Linked DNA regions of Homo sapiens: region 2 is linked to region 1. Evidence: promoter capture Hi-C in 16 types of primary human blood cells and fetal thymus (Javierre and others, 2016). All regions are on one chromosome and are shown on one strand. The core of a region is centred on a gene start or on the middle of the fragment in contact, and the rest is flanking DNA. Distances in the headings are between cores, read along the strand shown. Region 1 holds the start of NXT1 (nuclear transport factor 2 like export factor 1). Region 2 overlaps ZNF337 (zinc finger protein 337).

What was found. Contacts are between HindIII fragments. The CHiCAGO score rates a contact against its expected background, and 5 or more counts as called.
Region 2: a fragment that was not itself captured here is called in contact with the fragment with the promoter of NXT1 in region 1 in 2 of 17 cell types (naive B cells and total B cells); the score reaches 13.7 in naive B cells.

The regions. Positions count from the first base shown.
Region 1 is chr20:23,348,681-23,355,098 of GRCh38, forward strand. NXT1 (nuclear transport factor 2 like export factor 1) reads left to right here and starts at 2,111. Exons shown (of 2, transcript NM_013248.3): 1 at 2,111-2,381; 2 at 5,301-6,091. The coding sequence starts at 5,362. The coding sequence ends at 5,784. NXT1-AS1 (NXT1 antisense RNA 1) reads right to left here and starts at 2,787. Exons shown (of 3, transcript XR_937384.2): 1 at 2,650-2,787. RefSeq lists enhancers at 1,112-1,984, 1,693-1,832, 1,752-2,046, 1,985-2,856, 2,913-2,962 and silencers at 1,403-1,532, 2,153-2,422. The HindIII fragment of the contact is 12,471 bases long and covers 1-6,418 here.
Region 2 is chr20:25,685,759-25,692,491 of GRCh38, forward strand. ZNF337 (zinc finger protein 337) reads right to left here. Exons shown (of 5, transcript NM_015655.4): 2 at 633-708; 3 at 238-364. The coding sequence starts at 659. Among named protein-coding and RNA genes, the nearest start is that of ZNF337, 7.7 kb to the right of the region's middle. RefSeq lists an enhancer at 1-46. The HindIII fragment of the contact is 187 bases long and covers 5,067-5,253 here.

The DNA of each region.
Region 1 (6,418 bases), core at 861-3,360:
AAGGCACTGTGAAGATCCCTGTCCTGTCCTGTTCCGTTCTAATTACCTGTGCATGCAGCCCCAGTCACATACCCACTGCTTGCTCAATTGATCATGACCCTCTCACGTGGACCCCCTTAGAGTTGTGAGCCCTTAAAAGGGACAGGAATTGCTCACTTGGGGAGTTCGGTTGTTGGAGACGTGAGTCTTGCTGAAGTTCCCTGGCCGAATAAAGCCCTTCCTTCTTTAACTTGGTTTCTGAGGGGTTTTGTCTGCGGCTTGTCCTGCTACAAATAGGGGGAATAAAAGCCAGGGTTGCTTCCAAAGAGAGCAGGGAGTGAGTGTTGAGGACAGATCATCACAACTGTGCAGTTGAGGAGCATGATTTGAACCCAGGTTTGTCTGTTCATTCAAACAGTATTTATTGAGCCCTTGCTTTGGGTCAGGCACAATTTTATATGCTGGAGACACAAACCTAAAAGGACCCTAACCTAAAAGGCAGACCCCACAAACCTAAAAGGCAGAACAGCTGCCTTTCAAAGCTAAAGTCTCGCATTTTTAAAAGGCCTTGGAGCTGCATTAATGTTCTTCTAATTTTTCTAGGTATGAATCTTCATACTTTTCTAGGTATGAATCGACCCTGTGACACCAGGATGGTTCTTTGTCAGCCTCCTTGTCTATAAAATCAGAAATAATGGTACCTCCCCCAATAAGTTATGTGAAACAAATTAAAGGGGCTTATTATACAGGAAACAAAAGCAGCACAGCATCCAAACTACTGAGCGTGCAGTAAATCAACGCATTCCCACTTCCATTCCATCCACGCTGATTTAGATCAATCCAAGTATCACTGCCTTGGGGTTCAAAAGGCCATGTTAGTTCACAAAGCCCCGAAAATGCTCTTTCACACTCTCTGCTCAGCCTCCAACGTGTCTTTTTAATAATCCAAACTTTCCACCTACTTAACTGAAGTGTGTGGGGGGAGAGGGTGCGGGGGGGAAGGGGTGGCCTATACTAAATAGCCCAACTGTTTTCCACTTGTCCTGAAATCTGAGACCAAGATTCTCTTAGGAATGCAAGCAAAGGGAGCCGACGGGACGCCAAGAAAGCACAGGTTAAACTACCTCACTTCATCTAGCCCCATTTCTCTCCTGGCTTTTCAATTAATTATTCAGCCTCAGACCAGCAGATGGAGCTGAAAATGTTGTCTAAAGAAATGAGGTTTTTCTTTTAATTTACAAGCTATAGTTTCTCATGCCTCCACACTGAATGGTTACATCCTGTTGAGCCTGTTCGTAAAGTTCAGTAAAAATCCAGTTCTCATTCCAGAACAGCTGAATCGTAGCTATGAACGCGGAAGAACAGAGTCCCAACCCCAGCCGGGCCCGGGTTTCCCGGGGCCCCTCAAGCCTCAGGGCAGTGGAGAGCCGCCGTCACGCCCCCGCCTCCCCCACGTCCCACCCTCGCCCCAGTCTCCTCCCACTTTTAGCTACTTTTCCCATCTGACTAAAACTGGCTTCCTCCGTGTCCACCAAGATGTCGCCTCTAAGTGGCCTAACTCCTAAAGAGCGCGATCGGCTCAAGCACTCCGCCACGCGGTTTCCACGGGGCGCGGCCGGCGTTGCCCTCGCCGTGGCCTCAAGCATTGCGGCGCCCCACATGTTGCCAGACGGAAGGCCTCGGCGGGGTCAGGCAGCTGCTGCTGGCCGTGACTACATCACTGGTGACGTTTCACGAGACTTTTAACTGAAATCACTCCAATACAGGCGCATGCGGGACGAGGGGAAAGCATCTCACCCGACCCCACACACCTTCCCCTCCCTCTCCAGCCTAGCGGCCTCCGCTCAGCGGAAAAAAAAGCAGACGCTACTCCCCGCTCTAGGTGCGGGACCTAAGAGGTTTGGCCCAATCAGGCATCCCACCTAACCAGACGGGCCGGAGTCTGTGGCCCGGTTGGACCAACGAAAACTCTAGGGCGGATTTGCCGGGATTTCTGGGAAAGTGACACTCCCGGAAGCTACCGCCTCTTATAAGCCACACATGGGCGGAGTTAGCCTTCCGGCCCGCAGTCCCACTGGCTGACTTCGCTGCCCGTCACGGGAATGCGGGAGAGGGCGGCGCCGGGGCGCTCGCGTCTGCGTGGAGACCGGCTGGCCGCGCGCGGGAAGCCGCGGAACTGCGCCGGAAAGTCCCCCGGCTCTGGGGCCCCGGTGACCCAGAGTAAGCCTCCAAGAAGGAGGAGGAGGAGAGAAAGGCGGCTCTTCCCGTGCCCCTACCAGAGGCTTCGGTGGGCCCACCTTGTGACCTCCGCGGCCGGCCCCTCAGTGGAACTGCGTCCCACGCGGGGGGCGTCCCGACCGTGGGGGCCGCGGCCCGCGCTGACCCTGGACGTCGCCGCGCAGGTACGTTGCCGTCCCCCGGCGGTCTGACCCCCGAGACAGCCCCTAGTGCATACCCCACGCCCTCCTCCATTGTCGAGAATGAGACACGGCTGTGCCTTTGTCCACGTGGTAGAGTTGCCGCCGCGGTGAGGCTCTCGCCTGTGCAAAAAGCGTGGCAGCGAATTCTCATCAACGAGGGGAGGCGCGTCCCCTCACAGCGCAGCTCTCGGGTCTGAGGAGGGCCGGGCAGGGCGTGCGTCTGTCTAGGTTTGAATTAAAGGCGACTCACAGGAAATAAGGCCATGCCACTGTGGTAGCTTTTCCCGTCCATCTCCGGACACTCGACGGTGTGGGTCGTGCGAGGAGGCGGCAGTCTTCACAGCCTCTTACTCTAGTCCTCACGGTCAGGTTCTTTTTCTGATTTGACACAGACAGCGGGACTGACGACCTCATAGGTAGCTGAAAACCGTAAGTGGAGATGGTCCTTCTATGGTGTGTGGGGGCGTGGCCAGTTGTTAGATTGTGTTTGGAAAGACAGCCAGGGGCGGAGAAGAGGGGCATTTCTGAGATGATGGGGGGACTGGTGCCATGGAGGGAGGAGGAGTGAGGTGGAGATCGGGAATTCCAGCCAAAGAGAAATGGGGTCCCTGGGAGAAAATTCCCACTCTAGCAGTCCTGGAGTTGTGCTCATGGAGACTTGCTTACGCGAGTACAAGGACAGCGTTGTATTGACAAAATTTCAGCCCTCAGTCTAGTCTTGTAAACGATAGATCAGGAGTGTACTTAACCGTCGTTACTTTGATCCAGCCCTAGGTTTCCCTTTTCTCATTTGTAAAATTGTTATAGTAATACCTTTTTCATCCATTTGTGGTAACATTTAAATGAGGTAATTTGTGTGAAGCCCTTAGCAAACACAGCGCTTCTTAGTCGTGGGTTCCGCGTGGGGTGGATTCAACCAACCTCAAATCAAAAATATTCTTCAGAAAAAGAAAAATGCGTTTGTACTGAACATGTAGAGGCTTTTTTTTTCTTGTCATTATTTCCTAAACTATACAGTATAACAACTATTTACATCCCATCTACATTGTATTAGGTATTATAAGTTACCTACAGATGATGAAGGTATATAGGAGGATGCTGCGCATAGGTTATATCAAACAGTACACCATTTTATCAGGGACTTGAGCATCTGCAGGTGTTGGTATCCTCGGGGGTCCTGAATCCAGTTCCTCACAGATACCGAGGGACCACTGTACTCAGTCCAGAGTACAGTTGAGGCTTAACTATGAGGTCTGTGGAGGGCGTGGAAAGACCCACGTCTGAAATTGGCTCTTAACTGCTCATTTTTAGGACAGCTTCCCTCCCAGCCAGCCCTTTACCAGAGGCAATGCACCATCTTTGCAGCCGTTATAAGTACCTGGCTCTTTCCAGCCCTATGTGGAATGTTTTATTTATTTCATAAGCTAATCATTATAAAAAAAAAAGTCTTTTTTTTGAAATGAAAAAAAACTGTTCACTAAGTTTGTAAGTATAAACTATTTTAGTAATGTCCTCTATTTTAGTAATGTCCTCTTTTTTTTAAGTGAAATATTTTAATTATGGAGAAAAGAACATAACAGTTGTACCTGTACCCTGAAAAAAGTAAATGTCAATTTTTTAAATGCTTTTGGACTTTTTTATTTGGGGGACAATGTGACATTTCAGCTATAGTTCATATTCTGTGTCCACACACCCAAGAGCTTTGAAATCTAACATGCCTTTCTGTGGAGGCACTGTGACTCCACAGGACTTATCTGGTGGATGTTAGTACCTGTGTAAGCTGGGTGTCCTCCCTTCTAATCCCCACTCACCCAAGAGGTTTGCTGCTTCTAGCTTATCATGGGGATTATGGCTGCCATTTTGATTCTGTCCTCATGTCATTTGTGTTTCTACCCTCTTAAGAAACCTGCCTTCTCTGCCTTCCCAGTTCCTCCTGAGTGAGCTCATGATAGACTTTCCTAGACTCAGCAGCTGACGAGCATTTCATTGGTTTGGTTGGCCTTTATTGGGCCAGTGACCACTCTTCCCTTCAACATGGTCCACTGTCTTTACCAAGGGGCTGTCATGTCTGTTGCAAGCATTCAGGAAAGAGTGGCCTTCCATACTCAAATGTACTCTATTTTATAAAATGTGATTTTAAAAATTCGTGGTCCAATCAGGCCTCCTTATCCTCTGGGAATTGATTCCAGCAGCCCCCCTAGCCCCACAACAGACCAAATCTGCTGATGCTCCAAGTCCTTGATATAAAATGGCGTTAAGGCCGGGCATGGTGGCTCATGCCTGTAATCCCAGCACTTTGGGGGGCCGAGGCAGGCAGATCACCTGAGGTCAGGAGTTTGAGACCAGACTGGCCAACATGGCGAAACCCTGTCTCTATTAAAAATACAAAAGTTAGCCAGGCGTGGTGGCGGGCATCTGTATTCCCAGCTACTTGGGAGGCTGAGGCAAGAAAATCGCTTGAAGCTGGGAGGCAGGTGTTGCAGTGAGCCGAGGTCGCGCCACTGCACTCCAGCCTGGGTGATAAAGTGAGACTGTCACAAAAACAAAATGGCATAGCACAGTCAGCCCAACGTATTTGCAGGTTTCGCCCTGAGGTTGGCTGAATCTGTGGATGCAAAACCCTCAGATATGGAGTGCTGACTATAACTAAATGTTTTTAAACTAAACACTTAAGGTATACTATCTCAGTTTGCCACAGTGGTAATCCCATCTTAACAGTGAGCAAACTGAGTCTTAGTAAAATTAGGCATTTTTAGGCATTGGGTACTATTTGAGCCTACAGTCATTGTTCTGCAGTCTGTAACTATTTTGCCAGTAGTAGAAAAGGAGGAATGTTCCATTGTCAGGGCAGAATGAACTTTGGCATTCACGTGGCTTCTCTTCAACCTTACTTCCCTGCAGCCCCTGGTTCCCCAAGGCAGAGGAAATACCCTGGTGGAGCCCTCCTTCCATAGAACCAGAGATGGCATCTGTGGATTTCAAGACCTATGTGGATCAGGCCTGCAGAGCTGCTGAGGAGTTTGTCAATGTCTACTACACCACCATGGATAAGCGGCGGCGTTTGCTGTCCCGCCTGTACATGGGCACAGCCACCCTGGTCTGGAATGGCAATGCTGTTTCAGGACAAGAATCCTTGAGTGAGTTTTTTGAAATGTTGCCTTCCAGCGAGTTCCAAATCAGCGTGGTAGACTGCCAGCCTGTTCATGATGAAGCCACACCAAGCCAGACCACGGTCCTTGTTGTCATCTGTGGATCAGTGAAGTTTGAGGGGAACAAACAACGGGACTTCAACCAGAACTTCATCCTGACCGCCCAGGCCTCACCCAGCAACACAGTGTGGAAGATCGCAAGTGACTGCTTCCGCTTCCAGGACTGGGCCAGCTAGTGGGGGTGGCAGAGGTCTCTTTGCTTCATTCAGCCCTAGCTCTGTAGAGAAATGCAAACCTCGACTCTCAAGGATGTGAGGAACACAAGTTCATTTCTGTTGTTGCGGAGACACTGCAGACTCCACTGTGCCGAGGTTGAACTCTTTTTTGTTGCTCAAGTTCTAGGAGTCCCTTTCCTGAATATATACTTGTTTGTCATAGTTTCCTTTTCAAAGTAGTAAACTTTTCTATTTTTCTACTTGCCCAGTAGAGACTCTGATTCTGGAAATTCTGACAAATAATTTAATAATACACATGTTGCTTCTTTCCCTGTCTGATGTGTTTGACCAGGTTGTGAGGGAGGAGGAGGGCTAAAGGCAGAAAGCATAATAGGAAGCACCCGCACAGGGGTGAGGATCAGGGCTTAGTACCTACCCCAGGCACCAGTGTGCACATAGTTGGCCCACCTGGAGCTGTGATTCACAGCCCCATGCACACTAGAATCCCTTGGGACACTGAAAATTACCTATGCCAAGGCCATACTCCAGACCCAACCATGCTTGAGTGTGTGTGTGTGTGTGTGTGTGTGTGTGTGTGTGTGTGTGTGTGTGTGGTGGTGGGTAGGGGGGTTGGTTTTGTTCCAGGCTGGAGTGC
Region 2 (6,733 bases), core at 3,910-6,409, 2.3 Mb after region 1:
GAGGGGGAAGGCTCAGGAGGACCCTGTCTACCATGCTCAGAGTACAAACCCCCAGGGGGAGCCCCAGTGTGGGGAAAGGCCTGCAGGTGCCCAGTGGCAGTCAGTATGAAACTTTACCAAAGCCAGACCTTCCTCAGGGGAATAGAGAAAACAACATTCTTGTCTCTGAACCTAACCCTATGGCAACATCAGAGGCACCACAGGCCAAATGTTAGGCTCGAGGGAAGCCACGCTTACCTAGTGAGACCAGGTGGCTGTAGTTCTCCAGTGTCACCTCCCTGTACAGGGCCCTCTGAGCAGGGCTCAGCAGCCTCCATTCCTTCTGGGTGAAATCCACAGTGACATCCCCAAATGCCAAGAAAGCCTGTAACACAAAACCCAGGCATGCTCACCAGGGACAGTGTTGCACTCACGCAGTTGGAGGATTCCAGGTTCTGCCATCTGTACACAGATCACTACTTGATGAGTGACACCCACAGGCCAGTCACCTGCTGGAGGACGCCAGGAAAGACAGATCACTCCCCAGGAGCGGTGCTGGCCTTGGTCCTGTGCTAATAATGTAACTGCTAGGGCCAGTGAAGGAAATGGGCCCATCCTGTGACAGCAAGAACGACAGTTCTGGGAAGTCTCACCTGTCTCCTGGCTCCCTGAGGTCCCATGACTGTCTTCCTGCTCTCCACGGAGAAGGGAAGCTTGCAGATGGCCAATCTGTGGGAGGAGAGAAGTCAGAGGGTGGCTGGGTGCAGCTGCCCTCCCCATGTGTGACAGTTGGTGTGATTCCAATACCAACTGGGGATCTGGGGAGGGCGCACCTGCACAATTCCCCTGTGGGGATCTGGCCAAAAGGTCTAGGGAGCCAGGCTCCCTGCAAATCCAGGACAAGCTCATCTGGGAGTGAAGTGTGCCCCAGGAGCTGGGTGACGTTTGTTGCTTACATCACTGAGGGGCTAAAAGGATGAGGAACACCTGCAGATGAGGTCTTGCATTTAAGGTTAGGGCTCAGAGTTCCAGGTGTTCTTTGCACTGGACAGAATACACAAGAGCTGTCTGCCTCTTCTAGCCTCTGTCTCCCCGGGTTTGAAGTCAGGATAACCACAGGTGCAGACAAACTTGAGAAGGCCACAGGCAGATGGCATTGGCAGTTATTCAGTACTGTACAACACCAAAGCCTTTAACAAATTAATAGCATGGGGAGTGTGAGCTGTCAGGAATAAAAGTCCTCAGACACATGGTTAATCTAAGGCAATGAGTGATCCAATGCAATTTGGATCCTGATTGCAACAAAGAATATGTGAGGAGTATTAACAGCCAGTGAAATCTGAACACTAATTGGATATTAGATTATCAAACATTAATTTTGTTGTTATAAAAGTATTTTGGGTTTTAAAAACATGAGCCCTTCCTTGTATACAAACTTTTGGAACATTCATGAGTGAAAATGATGTCTGGATGTGCTTAAACACCCCTTCTCACCCTCAAAAGTCAATTGAGCATTACTGGCCACACTTCATAATTTTTAGAACTGAATAATGTGTACTGGGTTCATTATATTATTTTCTCCGAATTTTTTGAAAAAAATTCCAGTAGAAATACAGGAAAAGAACTGTAAATTAAAGTGGTGGGTGTAATGATTTCATTAGAGTATTCACTATACTTTTAAGTGAATGTTTTGACTAAAAAAATAAAATTAAAAACACAGACATATAGGGGTGAAAAGAAGGAAATGTGAAGGAACAAAGATGCTATCATGTGGTGATTATGATGAACACAGCATACATCCACTAGCCAGTAACTTTGAGACAGAAGTGAACAAATACTATGGTGTTATGAAAAGAAAATAAAACTAGGGACCCCAGTCCACTCTGCCAAAAGGAAAAACATTAAGCTGAAAGCTAAGTCATGCAAGAAGCTGCCTTTCCTTTTGTTCTTAAGGAGATAGCTACAGATAAAACGTTAAATATCTCCATAGTAGCTACTCTATGCACACCGTATCTTATGTAAAGTGCTGATTTACTGAGTGTGAGATGAATGCATAACTATTTTCCTACCTGCTCCTTTTCTCTTGTCACAGGTGGATTACCACACCTTTCCTCTTTCCCCTCCAGCCTACTTTTCCTTTTTAAACAATGAGGCTCTCAAACTCATCTTTGGGGAAAGCCACTGGCCTCTTTCTGTGGCATGTCCTCAACTGTGGCAAAATAAACATCTAAATTGGTACTTGACTCTGATACTTTTTGGTTTACATGTAGTTGGAGAAGAAAAACAGTGAAATTTCTTCCTCTGACGGCAGTTGAAAGGTGATTTAAAACATTTTTGTTATTTCTTTCTATATACTTACATAAATAGTTTACCTTTCATGTCCCATCTGTGCTATCTTTACCTATTCCAAAGTCACAAAGATATTCCCCTACATTTACTCTTAGAAGTTTAAATATGTTGTTTTTGATGGTAGTATAAATATGTATTTCATTTTTTAACTGTTTGCTGCTAGGTTACAGAAATACAAGTGCTTTTTAAAAATACTGACCTTATTTTCTGAAGTTCCTAAACTGTGTGTTACTAGTATCTAGTTGTTTAACTATTCTTCCATGTACATACTCACATCTTCTGTGAATAAAAAATTTTTTTTTCTGTTTCAACGTTTATGCCTTTTATTCCTTTTTAATACCTTAACAGGTTAGCTAGTTATTCTAGGATAATGCTAAATAAGAGTGATAAGAATCAACATTAATGCTTGTTCCTGATCTTAGTGTGAACACACTTCACCATTAAATATGATGATTGCAGCCAGGCTGTCACACATAACCTTTGTTTCATTAAGGGAAATTCTTTCTATTCCTCATTTACTGAGAATTTTTACCCTGAATAGGTGTGAAATGTTATCAAGTATTTTTCTGCATTAAGATAGTAATGTAGGTTTTTCTCTTTTGCTCCCTGAAAGCAGTGAAAGGAAAATAAAAACGTTGGAACCCAAACCACTCTGCCAAAAGAAAAATATTAAGCTGAAAGCTGATTCATCCAAGAAGCTACCTTTCCTTTTGTTCCTAAGCGGAGAACTACAGATAGGTTAAGTAAGGGTAAGTATCTCTGCCGGGCGCGGTGGCTCACGCCTGTAATCCTAGCACTTTGGGAGGCTGAGGCGGGCCTCCTCCTCGTGGTCAGGAGATTGAGACCGTCCTGGCTAACACCGTGAAACCCGTCTCTACTGAAAATACAAAAAAATACAAAAAATAGCCGGGAGTGGTGGCGGCGCCTGTAGTCCCAGCTACTCGGGAGGCTGAGGCAGGAGAATGGCGTGAACCCGGGAGGCAGAGCTTGCAGTGAGCCGAGATCGCGCCACTGCGCTCCAGCCTGAGCAAGAGTGAGACTCCGTCACAAAAAAAAAAAAAAAAAAAATTAGTCGGGTGTGGTGGCGAGCGCCTGTAGTCCCAGCTACTCAGGAGTCTGAGGCAGGAGAATGGTGTGAACGTGGGAGGCAGAGCTTGCAGTGAGCGGAGACCGTGCCACTGCACTCCAGCCTGGGCAACAGAGCAAGACTCCGCATCAAGAAAAAAAAAAAGTTAAATATCTCCACAGGTTGCTTACTCTATGTTCACTCTATCCTCGGTTTTTTGGGAACAAACTCTATTTGGCTAGAATATATCATCCTTTTCATGTATTGCTGGATACTACTTGTCCATATTTTGGTGAGAATTCTTGACTATTTTCCTCTGGAATGATTACATGTAAGGGCACATGAGAACTCTTGTTGAAATGTTCTGTATCTTGATTGAGGTGATAAGTGACCTGTGTATACTTTAAAGAGTCAAAACTCATTATACAGTTAAAAGCAGTGCTTCTTACGGTATGCAAGTTACACCTCAACACTGATTAAAAATCCTCTCAGAGATCAAGTATATATGGGTAAAATAACAAGACATCTGGATTTGTTTGAAATACTTTGGCACATAAACAGGGGGAAGGGATAAATCTAACAGAACTACCCATGGTTTTAAAATGATCAAATCTGGATGAAGGCAACATGGGGATTCCTATTACCATCTCCCAATTTTGCTACCCATTTGAGATTTTTCATAACACTAGTTTACAGAAAAAGCATTAATCATATTGCTAATTCTATGCTTACCAAAAAATTGGCTAAAATAATCTTATAGGAGCTAACTTCATTTGAAAATACTCAAAAGTCCCCAGCATTCAAGAAACTGCCCAATCAAGAAAAAGCCACATTAAAAACAGAAGGCAGCTGGCTGGGCACAGTGGCTTATTCCTGTAATCCCAGCACTTTGGGAGGCTGATGCATGTGGATCGCTTGATCCCAGGAGTTCGGGACCAGTTTGGGCAACATGGCAAAGGCTCATCTCTACAAAAAATATAAACATTAGCTGGATGTGGTGGCACGTGCCTGTAGTCCTAGCTACTCCTGGCTTGAGCCCAAGAGGTTGAGGCAGCAATGAGCCTTGAATATGCCACTCCACTCCAGCTTGGGCAACAGAGCAAGACATAGTCTCAAGAAAACAAAACAACAACAACAACAAAAACAAAACAGGAGACAGTCATATTTGCAGCCCAATACACCTTATTCCCAATGTTCTATCCTGTCCAAGTGTTGTCTAATGGAAAAATCTCATGGTGAACTTGCCTATAGATCCCTGGGGCAAAAAATTACAGGTGCAGAATACAACAGAGCTTCTAAAGCAGCATCTCAGTTTCCACTTCCTTCCCTCAAACCTGAGAAAGCACAGTAGACCTTTCTTACAAGGTTCTAAGCTGTTGGAGGCTGCCTGAGGGACTGCTCTGTTTTGAGGATCTCACACCTTAGGGAAGAAAAGCACTGGATCATGCTTGGCAAAGATGCAGACAGATTGAAGAGCAGATGCCTGGGGCAAGATATTATGGGTGGAGACATACAACAGACCATCAAAGGCCCAGAGGAGAGACTCTTGGGACAAATAAATATTTAAAAGCAGTTGCCTATGAGAAAATGGAAAAAGCCACAAGCAAAGGTAAGATCCATGCTCCAAAAAGGCCTGAGAAAATCTTAAACCTTCTCCTCAGATTGATCCCAAAGCTTAGAACGAATACCAAGATAATAGCAAAAATCCTCCCTGGAAAAGAGTCAGTCTGCAAAAACCGGAAAAGGAGGTTGTTTTTTCCACAATGCCTAATTTCTAACAACAACAACAAAAACTCAGAAAACATGGCCCAATAAGTGGAAGAAAATAAAGTGACGGAAACCTTCCCCGGAGAAACATAAGCTTCAGGCAAACTAGACAGATTTTAGACTGTCTAAAATATTCTCAAAAACTCATGAAACACGGGTAGAGAAAAGGAAATCAGGAAAATATATATGAACAAAATACCAACAGAGATTACAAAAAGGAAGCAAACAAAAATTCTGGACCCGAAAACACAGTAATTGAAAAATTCAGTAGAGGGATTTAACGGCAGATGAGCAGGCAGAAGAAATAATCAGTAAACATAAAGAGAAGAATTTGAAATTTCAGAGACAGAGAAGCAGAAGAGAAAAGAATGAAATAAACAGAGCCAAAAGAGTTATAAGGTGCCATTAACTGGACATATATATGGGTGTCTAGAAGATGCTGATAGATTACTGAAGAAATAATGGCCAAAACTTCAAAATTTGAAGACAGACATGAATCTACAAGGCCAGCACACTCAACAAACTCCAAGAATAAATTCAAGGAGGTCCACACCCAAACACACTTCTCAACTATACTTACATGAAACCAGCTTCAGGAACACAGGACTGGCAGGGGGAGAGAAGTTAAGAATAGTGGCATCGTGCCTCTCTCAGGGAAAAGCTGTCACCATAGACTGAGAACTGGAGAGGGACAGGGTTCCATCTTGTGATTTTCACAGCCCACAGTGGAGTTTCTCTCAGAGTGGACCAAAATGGGGGTGGGGAGGGTAGCAGTTTGTGTGTCAAATGTTACAGACTCTCACTGTTCTCAGAAAGGCTCAGTTGATTTTTCTGAATAAATGTTTCTCTAAATTCCTGAGTGGTCTTAAGACAAATTCCGTGTAGTTTAAATGGTTGTTTTTGGTTTTCTAAATTACCAGTTATGGTGTTTTACTGGAGATACAGTCCACGTCGCTCCTCACTGCCATTCCAGAATCCACATTTCTGATTATAGTTGGGACCAGAACTAGGGCCAGGCAATTAGGTAAGTGGTGTGATCATTATTTGTCCTTATGGGTAGAAGTAGAATTAGGAGATGAGCCTGGCAGGCAGAAGGAAGGAAGGGAAGGAAAAAGCTATGGCAAGGAAAGAATGAACAAGCCTCAGCACCTAAGCAAGCAAATGGGAAGTTTGCCAAGGTAGGGAAACTTCCTTTACCTAGATCACAACGAGAGAAGTAAAACAGACAAGGGGCACTACTGAGCTGGTTTCTAGATATTTCTTCTCTCATGCTTCCCATCTTAATGAACCTGAGTGTGAAATCTGAATTGTAAGGAGAAATTTTTGAGACCTGGAAAATTTCTGCATAAACTGGGTAATGAGTGAAATTAATACATTGCTAATTTTGTTGAGTATGATTCTGGTACTCTAGTTACGTTAAAAGGCAAGACAGTAACAACAAAAATAGTCCTCAGAGAAGTAGCTGCAGTAAATTTACAGATAAAATGGTGTCTTGGATTGGCTTCAAGATGCTCTAGCCTGAAAACAGAAAGCATGGGGTGGGGAGGGGGTTGGATGAAATAAGAAGAGCAA